3 separate regions of the Homo sapiens genome follow, and all the other regions are linked to region 2. The links are contacts of gene promoters, found by promoter capture Hi-C in blood cells and fetal thymus (Javierre and others, 2016). All regions are on one chromosome and are shown on one strand. Each heading gives the region's core, a stretch centred on a gene start or on the middle of the fragment in contact. The rest is flanking DNA. Distances are from core to core; before and after follow the strand shown. Region 1 has its middle 34 kb from the start of PAPSS1. Region 2 holds the start of SGMS2 (sphingomyelin synthase 2). Region 3 overlaps CYP2U1-AS1 (CYP2U1 and SGMS2 antisense RNA 1).

What was found. The method cuts DNA at HindIII sites, captures the fragments that hold promoters and counts their contacts. A CHiCAGO score of 5 or more calls a contact.
Region 1: a fragment that was not itself captured here is called in contact with the fragment with the promoter of SGMS2 in region 2 in 2 of 17 cell types (M2 macrophages and monocytes); the score reaches 5.9 in M2 macrophages.
Region 3: a fragment that was not itself captured here is called in contact with the fragment with the promoter of SGMS2 in region 2 in 3 of 17 cell types (M0 macrophages, monocytes and M2 macrophages); the score reaches 6.7 in M0 macrophages.

Annotation. Positions count from the first base shown.
Region 1 is chr4:107,751,820-107,756,007 of GRCh38, forward strand. No RefSeq gene overlaps it. Among named protein-coding and RNA genes, the nearest start is that of PAPSS1, 34 kb to the left of the region's middle. The HindIII fragment of the contact is 7,632 bases long and covers 1-4,188 here.
Region 2 is chr4:107,821,879-107,826,231 of GRCh38, forward strand. It overlaps SGMS2 (sphingomyelin synthase 2), which reads left to right and starts at 3,054. Exons shown (of 7, transcript NM_001375905.1): 1 at 3,054-3,375. The HindIII fragment of the contact is 3,698 bases long and covers 1,783-4,353 here.
Region 3 is chr4:107,915,112-107,918,976 of GRCh38, forward strand. All of the region lies in intron 1 of CYP2U1-AS1 (CYP2U1 and SGMS2 antisense RNA 1), which reads right to left. The region is part of intron 1 of LOC107986298 (a long non-coding RNA gene); the gene reads right to left. Among named protein-coding and RNA genes, the nearest start is that of CYP2U1, 15 kb to the right of the region's middle. The HindIII fragment of the contact is 6,871 bases long and covers 1-3,865 here.

The DNA.
Region 1 (4,188 bases), core at 1,330-3,829, 71 kb before region 2:
ATGCTCCACAATGTTTTCCTTTCTTCTAGTTTTTTTTACGTTAACTTTGTGATTTGTTGGACATAATGTGTGTATACAATCTGCCCTCTGCAAACTGGAAAGTTACAAAAGCCCTTGGTGTAAATATTTAGCCTTAATCCAAAGGCTTGGGAACTGGGAGAGCTGACAGTGAAACTCCCAATCAAGTTTGAAAGCCTGAAAACCAGGATAGACCATTAGTGTAAGTTCTGAGTCTGGAGGCCCAATAACTGGAAGCTCTGATGTCCAAAGGCAGGACAAGATGAATCCACTAGCTCAAGAAGAGAGAGTGAGGACAGGCACAGTGGCTCACATCTGTAATTCCAGCACTTTGGGAGGCCAAGGTGGGAGGGTTGCTTGAGGCCAGGAGTTCAAGACCAATATAGCAAGACCTCGAGCTCTACAAAAAATAAAATTAGCTGGATGTGGTGGCATATGCCTATGGTCCCAGCTACTCAGGAGGCTGAGGCAGGAAGATCACTACAGGTTGAAGCTGTGGTGAGCCATGATCATGCCACTGCCTTCCAACCTGAGAGAGAGAGGGAGACCTGACCTTCTCTGGGGGGAAAAGAAGAAGTAGAGAGAGAGGGAGTGAATTAATCCTTCCTCCATCTTTTTGTTTTACTGAGCTCTGTAAGGATTAGACAATGCCCACCCACATGGGTGAAGGTGTGTCTTCTTTTTCCCAGTCCACCAATTCAAATGCTAATCTCTTCCAGAAACTTCCTCACAGACACACTGAGAAATAATGTCTTACCAGCTATGTGGGCATCTCTTAGCCTGGTCAAGTTGACAGTAAAATTAACCATGACAGGAGTAAACCTAGATAAAGCAAAAACTACAGAAAAACATATGCAAATATGTTTTACCTCTCATCAAATCCTAAAAAAATGATATTTTATCTAAAGAGAAAGAACCCAAGATGGATAAAATCTTTGATATGTTAATTCCATTTTTACTTTGTGTCTATGCATGGAGGAGTATGGGGGTATAGGTATACACAATACATACTTATGTACATACTTGTATAAAAATAAGACCAAGTTATTTTTTCACTTGGACATCAAGGTAGAGATACTATAGATGTCTGTTAAAACAGAATTTGGGGGGAAAATCTGCACTGATTACTCTTTAACCAATCAAACTAGTCAGGACTCCTTTGGTCACAAGTGAGTGAAACAATTCAAATGCAATTAAGACGAAAGTGTCTTTATAGGCATAAAGAACTGAAAAGTTTAGATGTAGTACAAACTTCTAACACAGCTGGTTTGAATGCTCAGAAGACATGAGGATTGTTTCTATGAATCCCTCAGCTCTCCGTCCATCTGTGTCAGCTTTACTCTGGAAAAAGTTTTTAATGAGGAATATCAGTTTGGCCCGCAGCTGTTCCAGGCTGCCATCCTAGACTAAAAACTTCAGCAGAAAGACAGGAACCAGAGAGATGCAGGTCTGTCATGCTAGGAGGTGTCCAGGGACTGCATCTTATCTTTCTGTCCTTGACAATAAACCCACCTATTCTAGAACTTATCACAAGGCTGGGGTGAGGGCAGTGTATGGAATGTTCTGACTGGCCAGACTAAGCCACAGGTCTTCTGGAACTTGGGGAGGGGCTGCACAGTAGGAGATGTTATTCCCACACAAATGATAAGAAAAGATGGAAAATGGAATAATTCACTAAGGAAAGTTGGAAGTTCTTCTACCAATATTGGGAGGGATAAATACTTGACAAATAGCACCTTCATATTAACCTGCTTAATTTCTTTCTTAGAAGGGTATACAATAGGATGGGGTGGGAAGATTCAGTTATTTGTACTTGATAGTTATTTGAATTCTAGAGAAGGGAGAGTTTATTCAGTTAAAAAAAAAGTAGATTCAAGAAAAGTTTAAGGACTGTGGAAAAGATAACTAGCTCTCAGGGACAGTAGCAAAGAGCAACTGGCCAAAAAATCATACTACTGAAGTTTTACAGTTGATTTCCTTTGCCTTTTCTGACCTAGCATCACCTTTTGAGCACCCTTTCCACATCTAGGCAACTTTCTGCCTTTTAATCCACCTCCACATGGTAGAAGCCAGAAAGCTCACTTTGCCACACTCACTTGCGGCGAAGCTACAGGCATATAACCTAGGCTACCCCAATCACACACACCCATGTGAGACATCATCCCAGAAATGAGCTACATGGCAAGGCAGGAGCTGAAGGAAATCCACATTTTGGCATAGGTAGCTGCTGAGATGTCATCTCTCAAGGTCAGAATGACAGAATTCCTGATGTTTCATATCCAGAGTGAGTGGTGTATGCTTTAGTGTCCAGTTGCATCAGAGCCTTTACTGCCACAATCTCACAATGTGGTTAGAGCATTGTTTCTGACTGCATAGCCTCCAAACCCAACTCTTTAACCCTCCAAAGACTCTCTGAGCTATCTAATATTCCTTAAGAAATATCCTTTTTCTGCTTAAACTAGCAAGAATCTTAATTTGTAAACAAAGACCCTAATTGAAACAGTGACTGTATCAAATTTCTAGGGCTGCCATTACAAACTACCACAGAGTAAGTGGCTTAAACAACAGAAATTTATTTTCTCATAGGTATGGAGGCTAGAAGTTAGAGATCAAGGAGTCTTCAGGGTTGGTTTCTTCTGAGGCCCCTCTCCTTGTCCAGGTGGCCATGTTCTCCCTGTGTCCTCACATGGTTTTCCCTCTGCAGCCATCTGTGTCCAAATTTCCACTTCTTATAGGGACGCTAGTCATATTGGATTAGGACTCACTCTAATTACCTCTTTAAAAACGCTGTCTCCAAATACAGTCACATTTTGAGGTACTGGAGGATTAAGACTTCAACATATAAATCTGGCAGAGACACAGATCAGCTTGTAACAGTGACCATAACTGTACCAGAGATAACAAAGAGGACCAAGATTTGCAGAGAAGAAATTTACCGTTGCTATCAAAGAAGTTAATGTACATACTCTACAAATGAAAGAGGAGTATTAAAATATTTATATTGGAAAGACAAATTTATGTACTGAAATTTACCACAAGTATAGCATGGTGTAAAAGAGAAAACTGAGCAATCGTTAGATGAGTTTACCAGTGCAGACACTAGATCCTAATAATAAAATTGGGTCAAAATTATTTGGATAGTTGACTAAACTTTATATTGAATGTTATACAGTGACCCCAACCTAAATTCTGTACTTACTGTAGGAATAAGTATAGCCCTCCTAGATTAAGAACACGGACATTGGACAGTCTCTTGGTTTACACAAATCACAGTTTTGCCACTTACCAGCTTTGCAAGTTTTCTGTACCTCAATTTTCTCATTTGTAAAATGGGAGTAATTAACGGCATAATTTTAAAAGTCAAATATGCATTATATGCAAAACATTTATAATACCTGGCTGATAATGGTTTGGATTTGTGTCCCCACCCAAATCTCATGTTGAATTGTAATCCCCAATGTTGGAAGAGAGTCCTGGTAGGAGGTGATTGGATCATGGGGGAGGATTTCCCCCTTGCTGTTCTCATGATAGTGAGCGAGTTCTCACAATATCTGGTTGTTTAAAGGTGTGTAGCACCTCCCCCTTCACTCTCTTCCTCCTGCTCTGGCCATGTAAGATATGCCTCCTTCCTCATCACCTTCCGTCATGATTGTAAGTTTCCTGAGGCCTCCCTAGCCATGATCACTGTACAGCCTGTGGAACCATAAGCCAAATAAACCTCCTTTTTTTTTTTTTTTAAATAAATTACCCAGTCTCAGGAAGTTCTTTATAGCAATGAGAGAATGGACTAATACAGAAAATTGGTACTGGGAGTTGGGCATTGCTATAAAGATACCTCAAAATGTGGAAGTAGCTGTGGAACTTTTTAATGGGCAGAGGTTGGAACAGTTTGAAGAGCAAAGAAGAAGACAGGAAGATGAGGGAAGGTTTGGAACTTCCTAGAGACCTGTTAAAAATGCTGGTAGTGATATAAACAATGAAGTCCAGGCTGTGGTGGTCTCAGCTGGAAATGAAGAACTTATTGGGAACTGGAGCAAAGGTCACTCTTGCTATGCTTTAGCAGAGAGACTGGTGGCATTGTGCCGCTGCTCTAGGAATCTGTGGAACTTTGAACTTGAGAAAGATGATTTAGGGTTTCTGGCAGAAGAAATTTCTAATCAGCAAAGCATT
Region 2 (4,353 bases), core at 1,804-4,303:
TGTAGAAAATTGTATTTAGACTTATCCCATAATGTCCAAATATTTGGATCATGAAGTAGGGAGTAGGTGGGATATTCACGCAAACTTACTTATAGATGGCTATACATTTGAATCTAGTCATTCAGTGTTACCAATGGATAGGACACCCATGCTTCTGAATTAGCTCTGTGATTGTCTATAAAAACTGCTGATTTGAATTTTGACTGCATCCTAGCAAACCAATCCATTTGCTATTGCCTTCTGGGCAAAATGCCTGGGCTTTGTAAATTTGAAAATGAGCTCCTTATTGAAGGGGAAAAATAAACCCCAGGACAATAACTTTCGATTGGTGGTCTCCTCTGGGTTCTAACCTTTAAAAGTAGCTCTAAAAGAGTCCATTTTCCACAACAATGATGTTGAGCCCTTGGTTAATTTTAGGAGCATTTTCATTTGGGGGAAACTTCTGTATTGTGACAACATCTTTTTTTGGTTTTATATTTTAAAAATTTGGGGGGACCGGGCACAGTGGCTCATGTCTGTAAATCCCAGCACTTTGCGAGGCCGAGAAGGGTGGATCGCAAGGTCAAGAGTTCGAGAACAGCCTGACTAACATGTTGAGACCCTGTCTCTGCTAAAAATACAAAAATTAGCCAGGGTTGGTGGCACACACCTGTAATCCCAGCTACTCGGGAGGCTGAGGCAGGAGAATTGCTTGAACCCAGGAGGTGGAGGTTGCAGTGAGCTGAGATTAAGCCACTGCACTCCAGCCCAGGCGACAGAGCAAGACTCCATCTCAAAAAAATTTTTTTAAATTTAATTTTTGTAGGTACATAGTAGGTATATTTATGGGGTACACACAATATTTTGATATAGGCACATAATGCATAATAATCACATCAGAGTAAATGGGATATCTACCATCTCAAACATTTATCCTTTCTTTATGTTACAAACCAATTATATTCTTAGTTATTTTAAAATGCACAATTACTGTTGCCTGTAGTTGCCCTGTTTTGCTATCAAATACTATACCTTATTCATTCTATCTAACTATATATATATTTTTTACCCATTACCCATCCCCCCTACCCTTCCCAGCCTCTGGTAACCATCATTCTACTGTCTCCATGAGTTCAATTGTTTTAAATGTTAGCTCCCATGAATAAGTGAGAACATGTGAAATTTGTCTTTCTGTGCCTGGCTTATTTCACTTAACATAATGACCTCTAGTTCCATCTATGTTGTTGCAAATGCCAGGATCTCATTCTTTGTTATGGCTGAATAGTACTCCATGGGTATATGTAACGATTTATCCATTCATCTGTTGATGGACACTTAGGTTGCTTCCAAACCTTGGCTATTGTGAGTAGTGCTGCAATAAACATAGGAGTGCAGGTATCTCTTTGATACACTGATTTCCTTTTTTGGGCATATATACCTAGCAGTGAGATTGCTAGGTCATACGGTATCTCTATTTTTAGTTTTATGAGGAACTTCCATACTGTTCTCCATAGTGGTTATACTTTTTACATTCCCACAAACACAAGGGTTCCTTTTTTTTTCCACAACCTCGCCAGTATTTATTGCCTGAGCACCTTTTCATATACCTGTTTGCTATTTGTATGTCTTCTTTTGAGAAATGTCTATTCAAATCTTTTGCCCATTTATTACTCGGACTATTAGATTTTTTTTTCCTATAGAGTTGTTGGAGCTCCTCATATATTCTGGTTATTAATCCCTTGTCAGATGGATAGTTCCCATTCTGTGGGTTGTCTCTTCAGTTTGTTTCCTTTGCTGTGCAGAAGCTTTTTAGCTTAATATGATCCCATTTGTCCATTTTCTTTGGTTGCCTGTACTGTGACGACATCTTGAAGTTGCGAGTTTGGGGATTGCCTGCCTTGTATATTCTTTTCTGTTACCATCATCTTTAATAGCCACAAATGACTGTTGACCCACATGATATCTGCACTAGAAACCCAAAGATTCCCGTCATTATTTTTGTTGATTATATGGAAGCACCCATAAACCAGCGCAAATCCTAAACATAATTATCTTGTCCAGAAGGAGACATTAATGTAAAACTTATGTCAAGAAAGATTTAGCCACATTCCCTCGGATTGGTCATTCCTAGTTAGAGTCCTTGAGGCTGCCATCGTTTACTTTGAAAACTGCCCAGCAGGTGTATGAATAGCAACTCCAGGACAATGTAGAACCATTACCATTTTAAAGACAGCAATCCCCCTTTTAAAAAACTACTGAGGCCTTCGAAGAAACCACACGGCTGCCTTGGGCCCCAAAAGCTGCGGAAAAGCGCAGTATTCAGTTAAGCAAATAACTACTTACACTGTTTATTTTGGTTACGATTCCTTAAGTGAGAAGTAAATCAATTAACAGGACAAATGACACGATGGTTAGGCACGAAAGGGACAGTGCTGCCACCTCATTAGCTTGGAGCAACCTTCCAGCTCATACCATGCGGACTGATGACTAACCTTGCCAGGCAACGCTGTGAGGTTTGGAAACCCACCTCTTTGACCTAGGCCCGGTCAACACCGATAAACCCTCTGAATCAACGCTGGCGCTCCCAAGCCCACTCACACGCCGTCAGGAAGCAGTTTCCGAAACAGGCCGGGTGCGGGGGTGGGGGATCCCGTTCCAGCCCCACCCCTGAAAGTTGCTGGGAGTGGCACCCAAAGAACTTTCCCAGATTGATCTCTGTTGCCGCTCAGGGAGGTCAGCTCCAGGCCCTCAGCCTTTCGGCCGGGAGCCAAACTGCCCTGCCTGCCAAGCCCCTCCTTCTCTGCACCTTAAACAGCCGCGAGGGGAGAGTCGGCTGGGATTTTCTTCTTAAGAAGTCGCGCAGGTTTTTCGAGCTCCACTCTGCGCCAGGAGAGCCACGGCAGCAGGAACGGGCACTGCTGCCACCGGGCCGACGGGTGAGTCACTGTTTGGAAATGGAGTGGGCGGGCGAGGGTGTGAGAGAATGAATGATGTCAAGAGCGCGCTGGGCGCAGGGCGCAGGGAGCGGGCCGCGCGCGGCGGGCGGGGAGAGCGGGCGCGGGGCCGCGGTCAACACTGAGCGCCGCGCCGTGGGCCGAGTGGGGCGGGGAGACCCAGCCCTCGGCGCGCACGGAGCCTGGCCGGTGCTGCAGCGCCGCCGAGTGCGGCCTCGGGGGCGGCGGCCGCGGGAGGGACCCGGAGAGCTGCTTCCCCTAGTCAGGCCGCGGCGTGGGAGGGCGAGACCCCGAGCAAACTTTCTAGCGGCTTCGGCCCGAGGGTGGTGACGCCCGGGGCTGGTCGCGGCGGCTGCGGCAGCGGGCTCCATCCCCTGGCAAATCCCCTTCCCGGGAGCAAGTGCCTTCAGCTGGGAGTGTCTGGAGCCCTGGCCACCAGCGGGTAAGGAGCGCGCGGAGGGGCCAGGAGGAGGATGGGCTGGGGAGCGGAGAGTCCTCCGAAGCGCGGGAGGGGAAAGGTGGATTGCGAAGCGGGGACGTGGCTCTAATCCGGCCCCCACCCTCCCCGCCCAGGGCATGCTTCCTCGATTTTGTGGTCTGGAGGAGAGATGTGTGCCTTAGTCTCCTTCCTCTGAGCAGTCATCTCATTCATTTGCAACCCATTTCGGGTACCCCGGTCCTGGCGTTGGAAGGGCACAGGTTAAACCCCAGATTGTCCAGAACCACTCCGGAGGTCAGGGCTGAAGTTCAGTTGGTGGAGGAGGGACTGTGTGTGTGTGTTTGTGTGTGTGGTTTTTCTTTTCTTTCTCTTTTTTTTTTTTTTTTTTTTTGAGAGGCACTTACTGATGATGTGTGAACAGTAACAGCCCAGCTCTGGGCAGCCCACACCGAAACCCTTCAACGTGTGGCATTCCAGAGCTGCTCCCTTTACGGAAGGGAAGACTTGGTTTCTCAGCGAAAATAAGGGGCGGGGAACCCCTGTCAACATCCATCCAGAGGTATGGATAATCATTAATTATCCACGGCTTGAAACCAACTCAAAATGTTATGTCCTGTAGTCTTTTTTATTTATTAATGTTGCCGGTCCTCTATTTCAAGTCTTGCCTGCTCTGAAATGACCTTAAAATCATTTTGACATGTGTGTTATATTTTGAAGAGATTCAACTGTTTAGTGTCACTGGATTCGGCGTGGGTTTTCAATCTGTACCTAACTTTTCAAATCCTTGGTTTCATTACCAGTCTCCTCTATTAACGGTGGGTGCTCAGGCACATTAAACATTCTGAACCAGTAAAATGGGATTATAGCTACTTCAGATAATAAGGTGGATTAAATAAGGATTAATAATGAGGATAATAATGAGGATTAAAGCGCAAAAGACTTCTCATAATGTCTGGTACAAAGCAGACCCCAACAAATTAT
Region 3 (3,865 bases), core at 247-2,746, 92 kb after region 2:
TGTTAAAACCGCAAGAGGGATATTTTCTTCAAGCACTATTTTTAAAATAAAGTAATAACTTTCAATTAGTGGATTTAAGGTGAAAAATAATTCAGAACAATACAAGGTCATTCATGGAGAAGAAAATAATCACACATTCCATGATTCTGATTTTCATTGTTCACAAGAGGACAAAGTCACTCATGAAAAGCAGACCCCTTTCTGTCACTAGGTCTCCTTATGCCTTCACAAGACAGAAGCCTAAGGTAATATCCTCAACTGGAGTTTGCTAGACATTGCAACAGCAAGGTGCGGTAAGTAGGTTTTGAATCTGCTGATGACAAATGCCCCTCCTCCAAGATAAATTTTGTAAAAGCAATTCATTGGGGTGAAGTGAATAGGATAAGATAATAAGGTTCAAAGAGTAAGTTACAGGAGATAGTCCAGGCTTTATCCTTAGATTATCTAGAAATGATGGAGCATAGATCAGAATAGTTTTTCTGCCACCTCCACCCAGACCTTGGATGAAAAGCTCATCACAGTGACGTTCCCATCATCCTGTGGAAACACTGGCATGCTGATTTTGCTGGCCATATAGCTTCAAAGTCTGCCCTTATCTAGAATGCATCGTGCAAGAAACTAACGTGAACTCTTGTTCATCGTGCAAGGGACTAACAGGAACTTTTACTAAGGGGCTAATTCATTCTGGGTTCCATTTGTTTTCTTCATACAAAAGCTCTTGAGTGTGCCTCCTACGAGAGGATAAAACTCTCTGGGCATTTTTGAAAGTACTGAGGATAGTGAAGTTTTTTAAAGTAGTACTCTGTCTCTTACTCCAATAAGGAATCAATAGGCACTTTACAACTGCAGTTAAAGTGGCATTTTCAATCACACTAATCATGGGCAAGTTTCCTAAGTAATTAAAACCACTTTAAAACAAAAAAGAATGGTGATCATTCATGCTTGGTTTGAGATCTCTACCTCACAGCTGTTGATTTTAGAATTAGAATGTAGTGGTGTGTCCAAACAAGTTTTGCCACCAGGATTAGATGCTAGTCTCACTAGAAAGTGAATTTAAATTCGCTTACTTCAACCCCCATCTCATCCCCACCACATTTAAAGATAGAAAAGTATCTATATGATCTATATGTCTACTTAACGACAGACTCAGCTTCAAGTCTGTAAGGTTTTTTGATTGCAGGTCATTACAGTCTTGACCCTGCGTAATGCCTTCAGTCTCTCCAGATGATCATGCTATTAAGAGGTCGCCACAACTTTTGATAATATTCATCTTCCCTGATATTTTGAATCTCCTGCTGAGACACAGGAAGACAGGAAACTAGACTATGTTCACCAACCATTTGAGTGATTCTGTGTGCCATACACTAGAGCTGCTGATACATAAAATTCCTGACATTTAAGTGGAAATGTCTGCACTATAAGACTCGCCCATAACTCCTAAGTCACATCATAAGAATTTCAATTGCATAAAATATATGCAAGTCTTAGGAAATGTTTGTAAGTTTTAGGAAATGTTGGTCAGGGCCTTCATAGCCAGCTAGATGTTTCAGAAGTGGAAGTGAATTGCTTTTCTGGATGCATTGTCACTGAATTTTACCATTCTTTTCTATTTAATATTTTAGCAAAATTGCACAATAGACATCAAATTTTATCTCATCCAAAGGTTGGGAGAGGTCATATTTTATCTCATCCAAAGGTTGGGAGAGGTCATGTTTTATCTCATCCAAAGGTTGGGAGAGGTAATGTGCCATGGGCTCTGAGCATCCATCCAGCACATTTTTTGCTGGGCATGCTGAGTGCAAGGCCCTAACTCCTGTTACCCAGGCCATTTCTCAGGATTGTATTTGCAGTAAGCAATGTTAAGTAATGAGGTAGCATATCACCCTAAATAAAGAGAAGTCTTTTTTTCTGTTTACTGTAAAGCAGTAAAAATGCGAAGCTCAGTGGTCCTCAGTTGAGGTGAAAACCCACTGCATATGTAACATCTGTCTTCACCTCTCCAAGTCATCCCCATGGGATTTGAGAGACAAGGGAGCCAAAGGGACCATGCTGACACTTTGGATACTGCTATGCTATGTGTAGTGAAGTCCTTTGTCTCTGACTCAGGAGTCTTGTGTCTTCTAGCATCCAATGAAACAGGAACAGGCTAACTTGTGGGCTTGTAAGTAAAGTCATAGATGCTTCACGAATTGACATGTAAATTTTATTTTCTTCTAATAAATAAGAATATCAGAAGCATAATACTGTATTAAGTTAGGATAGTAATGGATTATGTATTACTGTGTGTGTATATAGATATATGTATATAATGCACATTTAATCCATATGTGGCACCCGTAATCAAACATAGCATTTTACAGTTAACGCTTGGCATACATTTTTTAATCTAAGTTAGGATAGTAATGGATTATGTATTACTATGTGTATGTATATAGATATATATATATATAAAATGCACATTTAATCCATATGTGGCACCTGTAATCAAACATAGCATTTTACAGTTAACGCTTGGCATACATTCTTTAATCTTCACAAAACCCTGTGAAGTAAGCAAGGCAAGAGAAGGTGACCCCATTTTATGACATGAAAGGGTTCATAAATGTTAGAGCTAGAACTTGAGTTTTGTTTTTGTGGGCTGTAGCTTGCTGCCTCCCTGTCGTAATTACTATGGTCACCATCACAGTTAGGGTTTTGTTAGGAAATTAGTTTCAGAAGCAAACTGTCCTTGGGACAGGTTCTTTGTCACATGCTACAGATTTTTCTTAAAATTACAATTTACTAATTTCAAAGGGGAGAAAAGTTGGCTCCTAGTGCAAAATGGCCTTGAAGGCAAAAGAACTCCTCAAGAATCCTCGAGTGTCTGAACCCACAAGTTTGTTAGAATAAAGCAAACTCACTGTCAATGAGTTTTAATGTCATATGTCTCAGATTATGTTTCCAAAGCCCCCACTCTGCCTGCCTTTCCCACATTGTGCACACTAATCAGATACATGAATTGTTTAGCCGTAATCTCTCCAGAAACTTCCAGAAAAGTGAATGATGAATTGCTAGTGTGGAAATGTCTTTTTTCTAATAAAAAGAGAAGATTTCATTCACTAATCTATGGCACCCTTGACCATGGGATTAAGAGTGATCCTGTTATCCCAGTCCCAAGTATTAAGTTGGTGCAAAAGTAATTGCGGTTTTTGCCATTGCTTTTAATTTCAAAAAACACGATTACTTTTGCACCAATCTAATAACTCCAGCTGATCCAGCACAGTGACACAATATGTTTAGTACCATCCTGTACCACCAACAAAATTACTGTATTTCACCAGTAACTAGTGAGTTGATTTTTTAATAACCTGCCTATATATTGGAGAGAATATCAGAGTTTGGGCAGTTCTCAGAGGATTTTGAGATTAAATTATATCAGAATTCAGTTCAAAAACAAATAATTGTTCAATATTGTTTTGTATAGCAGCCTTTACAAAAGAAGTGGTGACAAGTCTTCTCCTGGAGCTATATAAAATGAAATTGCCCAAACTGAAAAAAATTGCAAATATGTGGGAATTAACCAACACACTTAACTGGTGGAGCAAAGAAGAAATTGCAAGGGAAATTTGATAATACCTTGAGACAAATAACAAAAATGCAGCATACCAAAACTATGGGATGCAGCAAAACCAGCACTGAATGAAATGTATACCTACAAATGCATATGTTTTAGAAAAGAATAATGTAACTTTAGATCTTAAGGTACTTGAAAAAGAAGACGAAATAAAATTCAAAGTTAGCAGGAGGAAGGAAATAATAAAGACTAAAACAGAGATAAATAGAGAATAGAAAAATAATAGAAAAATCAATGAAATGAAAAGTTGGT